Linked DNA regions of Homo sapiens: region 1 is linked to region 2. Evidence: promoter capture Hi-C in 16 types of primary human blood cells and fetal thymus (Javierre and others, 2016). All regions are on one chromosome and are shown on one strand. The core of a region is centred on a gene start or on the middle of the fragment in contact, and the rest is flanking DNA. Distances in the headings are between cores, read along the strand shown. Region 1 has its middle 21 kb from the start of C9orf152. Region 2 holds the start of LPAR1 (lysophosphatidic acid receptor 1).

The links. Contacts are between HindIII fragments. The CHiCAGO score rates a contact against its expected background, and 5 or more counts as called.
Region 1: a contact is called between a fragment that was not itself captured here and the fragment with the promoter of LPAR1 in region 2, in 1 of 17 cell types (neutrophils). The highest score is 5.5, in neutrophils.

Annotation. Positions count from the first base shown.
Region 1 is chr9:110,184,539-110,190,124 of GRCh38, forward strand. No RefSeq gene overlaps it. Among named protein-coding and RNA genes, the nearest start is that of C9orf152, 21 kb to the right of the region's middle. The HindIII fragment of the contact is 1,964 bases long and covers 1,945-3,908 here.
Region 2 is chr9:111,035,787-111,040,729 of GRCh38, forward strand. LPAR1 (lysophosphatidic acid receptor 1) reads right to left here and starts at 2,684. Exons shown (of 6, transcript NM_001351411.2): 1 at 2,381-2,684; 2 at 336-415. LOC124902248 (a long non-coding RNA gene) reads left to right here and starts at 1,142. Exons shown (of 2, transcript XR_007061732.1): 1 at 1,142-2,003; 2 at 3,669-4,943. RefSeq lists a silencer at 2,114-2,453. The HindIII fragment of the contact is 5,735 bases long and covers 519-4,943 here.

The DNA.
Region 1 (5,586 bases), core at 1,677-4,176, 850 kb before region 2:
AATATTCTGGCCTGCCATAAGAACAATCTCCAGCTCCCCATCCTGCAGTTGCAGTGTCTGTTTCCCGACCTCCTGCTGTTCACAAGTACACACACACACACACACACACACACACACACACACACATTTTACAGAATCACCCCAGTACTAAGGTGCCCATTTCTATATTGAGTAGAATACAGCCAATAAAGAGACCCAGTAAATAATTCAGTGGCTGAAAGAAGATAGAAGTTTCTCTCTCACGTTACAGCCCAAGGGGAGCATGTGAGGTCTGAAGGCAGATTTGTTCTAAGCAGTCATTTAGAGGCTCAAGCTCTTTCCACCCTGTTGCTCTGTTACCTCCACAACCTTGTTGTCATGGGCATGGTCCAGCCTTAGGAAACTGTAAGGTGCGGTAAAGCATTTACTGAAAATACAGGTGGTTCCATTCCCTGAACCAGTAGCTGTAGCTTCCTTGCCTTGATTGGGACAGACAGCTGACCAACTTCTGAAGATTAGGAAACAGCCATGCCAGGGTTCCTGCTGCTACTGTAGATGCTGGCAAAAGAACAACTCAAACTAAGCCCAAAGCATAAGCTGTTAGAAACTGATTAAGGGTGCACATCCTCCCTCATTATTCAGTCCGCACCTAGTTTATTCCTTCCCGTAGTTAAAACAGCAAAAGCTATGAGGAGAATAGCTCCAAGGACAGATGGGAGAAACACAGGGGAACTTTCCATTAATCCTGGAAAGGCCTCTGGGTTGCTCAGGAGATCCTCTATATGCACACGAGACAGCATTATCATCTGAATGCTCACAATCCACAAATCCTGCATCTCATGGGAGCAGTGTTCTTGCGCTTAAGAAGGCTCCATCACAGACACACAGAAATACTGTAAAAATAAAGTGACTATGTTCAGATGTCCCTTAGCCACGTTACCTATGTCTCACTCCAGGGCAGCTAAGGAGGGCTTTTCAGAGCCTCTCAGGGTCATGCGGGTGTTTGTACTTGTGGCAGTTTCTCTAATTCTGAGTTTGCAAGCCTTGCAGACTGACCTGAAGAAAATGGCTGTGGCTGTCGAACACGTTTGCCATGTGGTTTAGTCTGGGTTCATTTCAGCTGGTCTGGATTGATTGCGTGCTTATCTCCAGAGCTACCTGCTGCATGGTAGTGACCTTAGCTAAAACTATGGAATGCATTCACTAAAGAGAAATAATGTGTTTTAACCATGAGTTCCTGAGTAGTTTCCCGAAAGGATGTACCAGTCTACCTGCAATGTTTAGTAATCATAATAATTATTATATGCATCTGATGTTGGTGGAGCCTGGGTTGACCTTTAAGGCTGGCCATGTAGCTGGAATGGCCTAGGGGACCAGCTCACTAGAAGAGACCCTCCCTGCAAGTAGACCTGGGTTTCCAGTTCTCATATTCTCTGTGTGAACGCTGATGGTGTCTGAGACCTAGAAACCAAGCATGTCTTGTGTGACTCAGCAATGGGAAGACAAAGAAGCCTGTGCCTGAGAGCTGCAGATCCCTTTTGATACTCTTCTCTCTCCTGCGGTTGCAGTATTGTACCCTTTACCTGTAATAAAGCTGTCTGAGTATAAACTCAGCACCTTAAGTATAACACTTAAGGTAATTAATGTGTAATTAATGCACATATTCTTCTAGATACACCTGCATACTCATATAATGTCACCCAAACCATTAAGTGATTTACTTGGTCCTTGGCCATCAGTCTGGTACACTGGAAAGGTACAGGCTCATTATAAGGGTATGATGAGGGTTTTCTACCGTAACTCTCTGGACTCCATAAACATCCCCAAAGAGAATTCAGATTATCTTTTCTACCTGTGTTTGAGGTGCCACAGCACAAAGCTCACTCCAGGCAGACAGAGGAAAGTGAGCACTGGGCAGGTTGAGGCAAGTATGAATCATCCTCTGACATCAGACCCCTCCTTGGAAGCTTTATCATTGGTATGCTTAATCCAGTTCCATCTGAGCCTACATCAAAAGTGGAGAAGAATAAGTTTGGGGAGCAAAAATGTGGGAGTGAATTTGGTGCAAGGGGTTCACATTAAAGCATAGCATTCCAGAAGCCCATTTAAAATGGGTCCCGGGTTTCAAGAGAGTGAGCAGGGCAGGATATTCCCCAGGGAATCACCTGCATAGATGTGAGAGGTGATGCCATGGACCACCTCGCCAAGGAGGAATGCAGACAAAAAATGGGATGAGCACCTGGGACAGAGCCATGTGGATGAGACAGAAAGATTCAGGCAGAAAGGTCAGAGGGGAGCCAGAGGGCAATCATACATAACTTTACAAAAAGTAATAACTTGGCCAGGGGCGGTGGCTCACACCTGTAATCCCAGCACTTTAGGAGGCCGAGGTGGGTGGATCACCTGAGGTCAGGAGTTTGAGACCAGCCTGTCCAACATGGTGAAACATCTCTACTAAAAATACAAAAATTAGCTGGATGCATTGGTGGGCACCTGTAATCCCAGCTACTTGAGAGGCTGAGGCAGGAGAATTGCTTGAACTGAGGAGGCTGAGGTTGCAGTCAATGGAGATGATGCCATTGTACTCCAGCCTGGGCAACAGAGCAAGACTCTGTCTCAAAAAAAAACAAACAAAAGTAATAAATTATTAAGAGGAAATTCACATAACATTAACCATTGTAAAGCAGATAATTCAGTACATTCACAATGTTATACAACCACCACCTCTAGTTCCAAAACCTTTTTATTATCCCAAACGGAAATCCTGTGCTGTGTCCTGTAAATGGTCACTCCCCATTCCCCTCACTTCCAGCTTCTGGCAACCACTAAGCTGCTTTCTGTCTATGAATTTGCCTATTGTGCACATTGCACATAAATAGAATCATACAATATGTGCCCTTTTGTGAATGAGCTTCTTTCTCCTAGTATAATGCTTTCAAGGTTCAGCCGTGTTGTAACATGAATCAGTACTTCATTCCTTTTGATGGCTGAATAATAATCTATCATATGGATAGACCACATTTTGTTTCTCCATACTCTGTTGGTGGGCACTTGGGTTGTTTCCACTGTTTGGCTATTGTGAGCAGTGCTGAAAACATGGGTGTACATGTACTTATTTTAGTCCCTTTTTTCCATTCTTTTGGGTGTATACCTAGGAATGGAATTGTGAGGTCATATGGTAATTTTCTGTTTAACTTCATACATAACTTTCAAGCTCAGCCGCATCAGCGGTTGGCAATTAGAAGAAGGTTGTTGGAGAGAACTGTCAGTCAGCTGAGAGTCCTATCCCCATAAAGAGGGGGTAGTAGGGGATGCCTGCCTCATTTCAAGCTGTGGGAAAGAGGTTTTCAAAAGGGCCCCTCAAGCAGCTTTTATTTGTTCCTTGTAAACTGGAGAACATGACACACCTGAGAACTCCAAAGGGCTCCAGGTCATAGCTGACGGTGTCCCTAATGGCTGCATGAGGTTGGCCTCCTCTCCTGAGTTTGTGAGCACAAAGTATGTGTGTGACCCATGAAGCAGAGAGGGGCTTCGCATTTAAGACAGATGGTGTTAAGATTTTCTTAGATCCTGATTACAACCACTGCCTTGGAGGGGTGAGGTGTGGAGCAAGAGCAAAACCAAGCTGGTGGTTGACTCCTGCATGCCGAGGAGCTGCAGATGGATTCTAAGCAACCAGGAAAAGCAGAGATGCCTCCTCCCATGTCCAGGGAGGATCCCATCCATTAGAGGGTGAATTTCCAAAATGAGGAAAGAAAAAGTGTCAGCATTTAATTCCTTCCCCGTGCATCTCATGACAGTATTACTCAAGTAAGGTCTTACCCACCTCCCTCCCAGTTATTGTACACTCCCAACCCTGGAGAGGATGAAACTTCCCTAAGTAACTTGGGATGAGAGCTAGAAGCTCAAGTTTGGAGAGCAGTTAACCAAGCTTCCCGTCCTTCCTCACTGCAGACGTCCAGCCCAGAGCTCCTGAGAAAGAAGTTGGAGGGCTTTTTTGTTTTTAAACTTGTGCTGGGCAGGACTTACTAAGTTCTGAACTGAAACGAGTGGTTTTCATTCCTATGAGTGACACACCCAGCCATGAATTTCATCCAAGGCCTTGGAAGGTAAAAATGAAGTTGTTTATAATTAATTATCTCCTGTTATGGAGTAAATGTTTGCATACTCCAAAATTCATATGTTGAAATCCTGAACCCCAATCTGGTGATATTAGGAGATGGGGTATTTGGGAGGTGATTGGGTCATGAGGATGGAGACCTCATGAATGGTACTGGTGTTCTTATAAAAGAGACCTCAGGGAAAAAAAAGAAAATAAAAAAGCGACCCCAGAGAGATCTCTTGATCCTTCCACCATGTGAGGACACAGCCAGAAGATGGCCGTCTATGAACAGGAAGCAGGCCCCCATTAGATGCTGAGTTTACCAGTGCATTGATCTTACACTTCCCAGCCTCTAGAACTTTCAGAAACAGATTTCTGCTGTTTATAAGCCACCCAGTCTACGGTATTCAATTATGGCAGCCTGAACTGACTCAGACATATCCCAGAAGTTGCACCTGTTCCAAGTGGTTAAATTTTTGTTACTTAGCCTCCTTAAGAACAAAGCTCGTGACTTCCTCTGTATCTGTTGCTTCTGTACCAGAGTCTGGCATGTGGAGACACTGAGTACATGTTCTCTCTTTGTGCATAAACTCTGTTTACTTCCTCATCAAGCACTCCAGCTGGAACTCAGCAAGCAAACACAAGGCGTGCTTCACAGCCCTGGGCCTGGAGGCTAGTGCAGCAAAGGGTGAGACGTTCTGTGCCCTTCCTATGGGGATAGGTAGGGAGTGAAACTTTTACCCTGCCACCTCCTTTCCCCCATCAGCAGAGATTAACAGAATGGACATTCTGTAGACTGGATAGGAAAATGGAGCTAAAAGTTACTTATCTTGCAAAAATGTCATAATCTCCCCAAAGCTAGTAAGCAATTCTCTGTGTCTCTGTCCAAACGCTTGGGACACTAAGGCGGATTGTTTTTTTTTTTTTTTTTTTTTTAAACTCAAAAAAGAAGAAATGTTTACAAGGGAAAATCTACCAAATGTGACTTCTCCATACTGATCACCCATTAAGGCAGGGGGTAGACTCTACCACAAATGGTGGTTTTCAAAGTTGAGTGTGCATCAGAATCCTATGGAAGCCTCGCTAAAACGGACTGCTGGCCCTCACCTCTTGAGTTTCTGAGTCAACAGGTCTGGGTGGGGCCAAATAATTTTCATTTTGGACATGTTTCCAGGTGACGCCGATGCTGCTGGCCTGCAGAACACACTTTAGAGCCCCTGAGTGAGACATAGGAGATTTGCTGGGATTCAAAATCACTCTTAAATTAACCACCCTAAAATTTTTAAAGTGTCTGAAAAATACCCTGAAAATAACTCTTTGCCCACCCTCCTCACCTCTGGCTAAATACCTGAGAGAGGTTTTCCAGGAGTTTCTTGCCCAAATCATTCCAGGCCCTTGCCCTGAAGCCTGCCTCGTTGTAATCACTGCATTCTCTCTGGTCTTCATATGACTTCCAGTCCATCTCAAGAATAATGCTGAAATTAGAGAAACTCCAAGACATGAAG
Region 2 (4,943 bases), core at 1,434-3,933:
AAAGTTCTGTTATCTGCTGAATACTTGGAGCTTCCCAGTGAAAATGATACAGTGTATTCTGCCCAGATTGCAACTTTCCATACTAAGCATTTGAAATGATTCTTGGCCCTAAATATCACTTACTTCAGACTGAATGTCACTGTGTATCAAAAACACTGAGCAAGTGAGATTTTTATTCTTTGAACGTTCCAGTAGGTCACTAATGGAATAGATTCAGTAAAACCTTGCAGCCTACGGTATAATTTGAAACAACAAAAAAATCAAATCACTTTTTGGAAAATATTAGGTTTGAACAAAAATAGAAGTTTCGAAAGGGCTGCCACTTACATTCTTACCTCTGTTAGTTCTTTCCCATCACTCACAGGGAGACTGAAATCCATGCTGAGTGCCCACAGACCTGGGCAGGAGCTGTTCCCTTGAGAGACAATGATGCAAATGAGTCAAGTGATGCCTAGTAGAAGTCAGACTGCAAGGATCACCTTGACCTCACCCTAGTGCATTAGCTAAGCAAACTCACAAGCTTTAAATAATAAAGGTAACAAGAGATTGATCTGAGGTGGGGGAAGTATTATTGAGTCCCTTGAGGAAAGGAAAAAAAAAAAAAAAAGAGGAAATGAGCTCCCAGCTCAAGAATTTTTCTCCTCCAAGCATCCTCTGTTGCTTGTTTTCTTCCATCTTCCTGGCCCTCTGGACCTCTCACTTCCCCCTCCTACCTTTTCCTACTGCTCTAACACAATAAGATAACCTCCCACCGGTTTCTCGCTATTTGGGAAGCTGGAAGGAACAGCAACGATCACCAACCCCTTCCATTTTCCGGATGGGGAGACGGAGACCAGGATCTGAGCTGACCCGACTGGCTGAGGTCGCGCCGCTAGGGGACGTGGTGTACCTTGCGGGCTCGGATGATGACAACCCAGCCTTCCCTCCTCGCTCCTCGCCCGTGCCTTCCTGCCTCAAGCTACCTCCTTCTCTTGCCACTTGGTGTTTTTATCCTCAAATCAGACAAGTATCAAGAAAAAAATGCAACCTTAATATACTTACAATGCTGATTATTATTCATAATTTTGCATTTGGGGCAATTATACTCGCTCCTACTGGGATATGGAAATCAAGGGCAGAAAGAACTAGGTGACATTCTACCTCCCTGTGTATTTTAATGATGTTTAGTTTGGTTCAAATAACCATACCTCTAAAATACACCCTTTTTCCTTGGGACCCACTCTTCTATCCGGCAAGGGAATAACTTCTTAAAAAACTTCGCATTTTCCAAGTGTACAGTCTCCCCTTAACCAGAACTGCAGACTCTGAATCACAGACCTCTGGCTTACCAATTATGCTTAGCTGAGCAAACACACTTATGCAAATACGTGAAAAACAAACTGTTAGAGCCTGAAGGAATAGAGGATTTCGCTGTGATCATCAATATGTGATCATCACATTTTCAATATTTATGTTTACCAATATCTATCTAACCCCATAGGAAACGACGCGTCCATAGTGAAACAAGCCAGCACCCACATTTATGAAAAAATCCACGGATTTCAACAAAAATGAAGAGAGGAGAGCAGAAGCGGAGAGCCACAACCTCAGGCCCCAGACAGCAGGCAGCAGCAAGTCCTGAATGCCTTCACTCTTAACATTGCAAAGACCAAATGGCAGCAAAGAAAAACAAGAATAAACTTTAAATCCATTCACCACAAAGGAGTCCTACGCAAGTCAAAGGAGCCGTCGATTTCAAAACCATCAACTTTCAAAGCCAGGTCCCTCCCTTGCCTTACAACCTCCTGTTACTTGTTAAGCACGTTTGTTAGGCGGCTGGACAGAAACTTAGTTAAAAGTCCTCAGCCCGGTGGTGGGGGACAACCGAGTCGTCAGTGGGAAGCGAGAGGTGCGGAGCCCCAGGGGCGCAGGGACCCCTCGGAGGTGCAAGTCCAGCGGGACGAGGTTTTGGGAGAATTTCGAGGGCCCCTCGCAAGCCCTCCCGCGCACCCACCCCGACCCAGGTAACCGGAGGCCACCTACGTGTCACTGGGCGGGCCCCGGGGCGCACTGACCTGGCGCGGGACAGGAGGGCCGGCGGCCCGGGCGGCTGCGGCAACTTCCCTCCAGGGGCTCGGTCCGCCGCTGGGTGCGGGAGGCCAGGGGAGCCTCGCCTCCTGCAGGCCGGCTCGCAAGAACGCACGGCCACCCACCCGCGCCGCGGCCCACAGCGCGCACCCACACTCTCACTGGCACTCGCACGCGCGCCCCCAACCACAAAGCCCGTCCGCGGCGGGACAGTGTGAGCCCAGCGCGCCGTGTGGCGGGCCGAGCAGTCGCCGCGGCCTCTGGCTTCGCGCCCAGGGGGCGCCGTCCCCACACGCCGCGCCGGCCCCCTTACCTGCGCTCGCTGCCGCCGCGCGTCCCTCTCCTGCCGCCCCCGGGCTGGCTTCAGGCCGCGCGCCCAGTCCCGGCGGCCCCCGCCCCACCGCCAGCCGAGCCCGGCCCTCCGCCCGCCCCTCGGCAGTCGCCCAGAGCGGGGCCGCCCCCTGCGCCCACCCCGCCGGGGTCCCGTGCTCGGCCGGGCGGCGGGGAGGGCTCCGCGGCTCCGGGCCCTGGCCGCCCCAGATCCGGCCCGCGCTCCGCAGCGGGGCTGGAGACGGAGTCGCCACTCAGGGAGCGTCAGCCGCCAGTCGGCCCCTACTGCCCGGCTTTGGCGCGCTGGCAGGAGGAGGGGGCGCAGAGGGAGGGCCAGAGGAGCAGCGCCGACGCCAGCCTCCTCTCTTCCTCCGCCTTCCTTCTTTTCTGCTTGTTCCACGTAGCACAAGTCAGCAACACCCGAACCCCCAGAGTCCGCCCTCCCCGCTCCCAAGCTGGACCCCTTACCTGGTGTGGCGCCCCCAGCGCCCCTGACCTCTGCGCCCCCTCCTCCATTCATTGGCTCGACAGCCCACGGTGGTGGCAGGGCCGGGGCTGGGGGGTGGCCTTAGCCTCCCATTCATTATCTCAGCAGCCTCCCCCGCCCCGCCCCCGAGTCGACACACCCGCAGCGGGAGACCCGTGGCCGCCAGCTCGGGTCCCACCCCCGCCCCTCCTGCGCTTACCCCAGCGCCGGACAGCTGGCAGGACTCCGGTGGACGCCCCGGCACGGGGCATTTTCACGTTGTCGCTCTCCTCTTCCCACTCGAAAAGCTCTGGAAAACATCGCGGGGCCCGCAAAACCCCGGAAATGTGGCCTCTCTTTCGTGGCTCACTTTCTAAACTTTCCAGAAGGCGCAAAGTTTCTCCCAGCGCCGCCCTGCACTGGAGGCTGCGAAGAACGCAGAAGCGGCTTTGCTGCTAGGAAGGTGCATACGTTTCTAGTTCTGATTTTTCACTTCACTGGATCTGTAAACGAAAGCAAGTGTGTCTGCTCCCCTAGTTCTCCATATCCACGATTATAAATTTCTCTTCCGCTTTCCCAGTGTAGCTTTGCAAGTGTAAACTATCAATTTTAGTGAGAGTAATTAAGGGCGGGGACTGCACACCTGGAGGTGTGGGTGGGAGCGGCGCGGGACTAAGGCCTAGGGAACATTCTCAGGAGAGTGGCAGCCACAGGGATTCGCCCAGGTCTTATAACACACCCACTCGATGGGGTCTCCCTAGCCACGCCACCTCACAACACCCATCTCCCACTTCTGGCTTCCCAGGATTTCCGGAGTGATCACAATTATCGGCCTCTCGCTCCACAGCTAAGGCCACCGCATATCAAAAATAGCAGCGTGTGAGTAAAAGTTTCATGAGCCCTCGCCTTGAAATGGCACAGAGGACACAGCACACCAGCAGTAAGGCATGGGGACTCGGCAGGACTGATCTGATTGAGAGAAACGCAGGACAGCGAGGCGGGGCTATGTTGGTGGTGGCCACCAGGTAACCGTGGGCTTTGCAGAAGAGAAAGGTCACTGCAAACCGTAGCTGGACGGAAACTTTTCAAGCCTCAAGTGAGTTATGCTGTGACGGGACCATGACCATCTCCCACCGGTGACTGCTTAGAACCTTGACCAAGCTCGTGTGGTTTTCACAGGATGCTCAGGGCTGAGTCCTGGCTGTAAATAATTTACTATCTAAAGCTGTTTCCTTTTAAAAACAATGGTTCTAATCTTTTTTTTAAAAAAAATCATTCAAATCTTTTTTAAAAATCCACTTTAAATAACTTTGCTTTCTATACCTTTCCTACGAATATATGATTTATTTTATAACCTACTATGTGAAAAAATTGAAATTTTAGTACATGCACAGTGCTAATATGTTCATGCACAATGCTACTTATGTTTGTGTACGGCATGCAGAAATGTGTATAGATATGTATACCCATGAATACAAACCACTCCCTTATCTCACAAATAATCATAGGGGTTGATACCAAACTATAAGAAATATTATATTGGGATGAATAGGCAAATGTTCACTATAAAATCTCAGTATCATAAAAAGTATATATTGGTAAGAAAAAAATATACTCGAAAGAGGTTTCCATATATTTTTAACCATAGCTCTACTCAAGTCAAAAAATCACTTATTAGCTAATTTTCCCGTCTCTTTCTTCCTATACACTGTACTTACTATCAGATTTCTTAACACCAATACTTCTATATCTAATATAAAGACATTTTAAAATTAATTATTTCCATGTTTAGCCTTTCCCCATAAATCAAAGGTAAAGTAAAAGGAGTTTCTTACCTACCACTCAACTTGAATATTTTTAATATGTTGATTTTGTCTCTTACCTTCTTAAGGAATACAGTTGCTTCTGTTTTGACTATCTTAACTACTCTGTGGCCCCTTCTAACATCAAATTGGGAGGCCTGTCCGTACAAGACATGTGTATTCAACAGTAAGTTATTTGCTATAAAACACTTCATTTCCTCTTTATTTGGTCTGCTGTGGCCTGAAATGAAATATAGAACAAACTGAAAGGTCTGCCT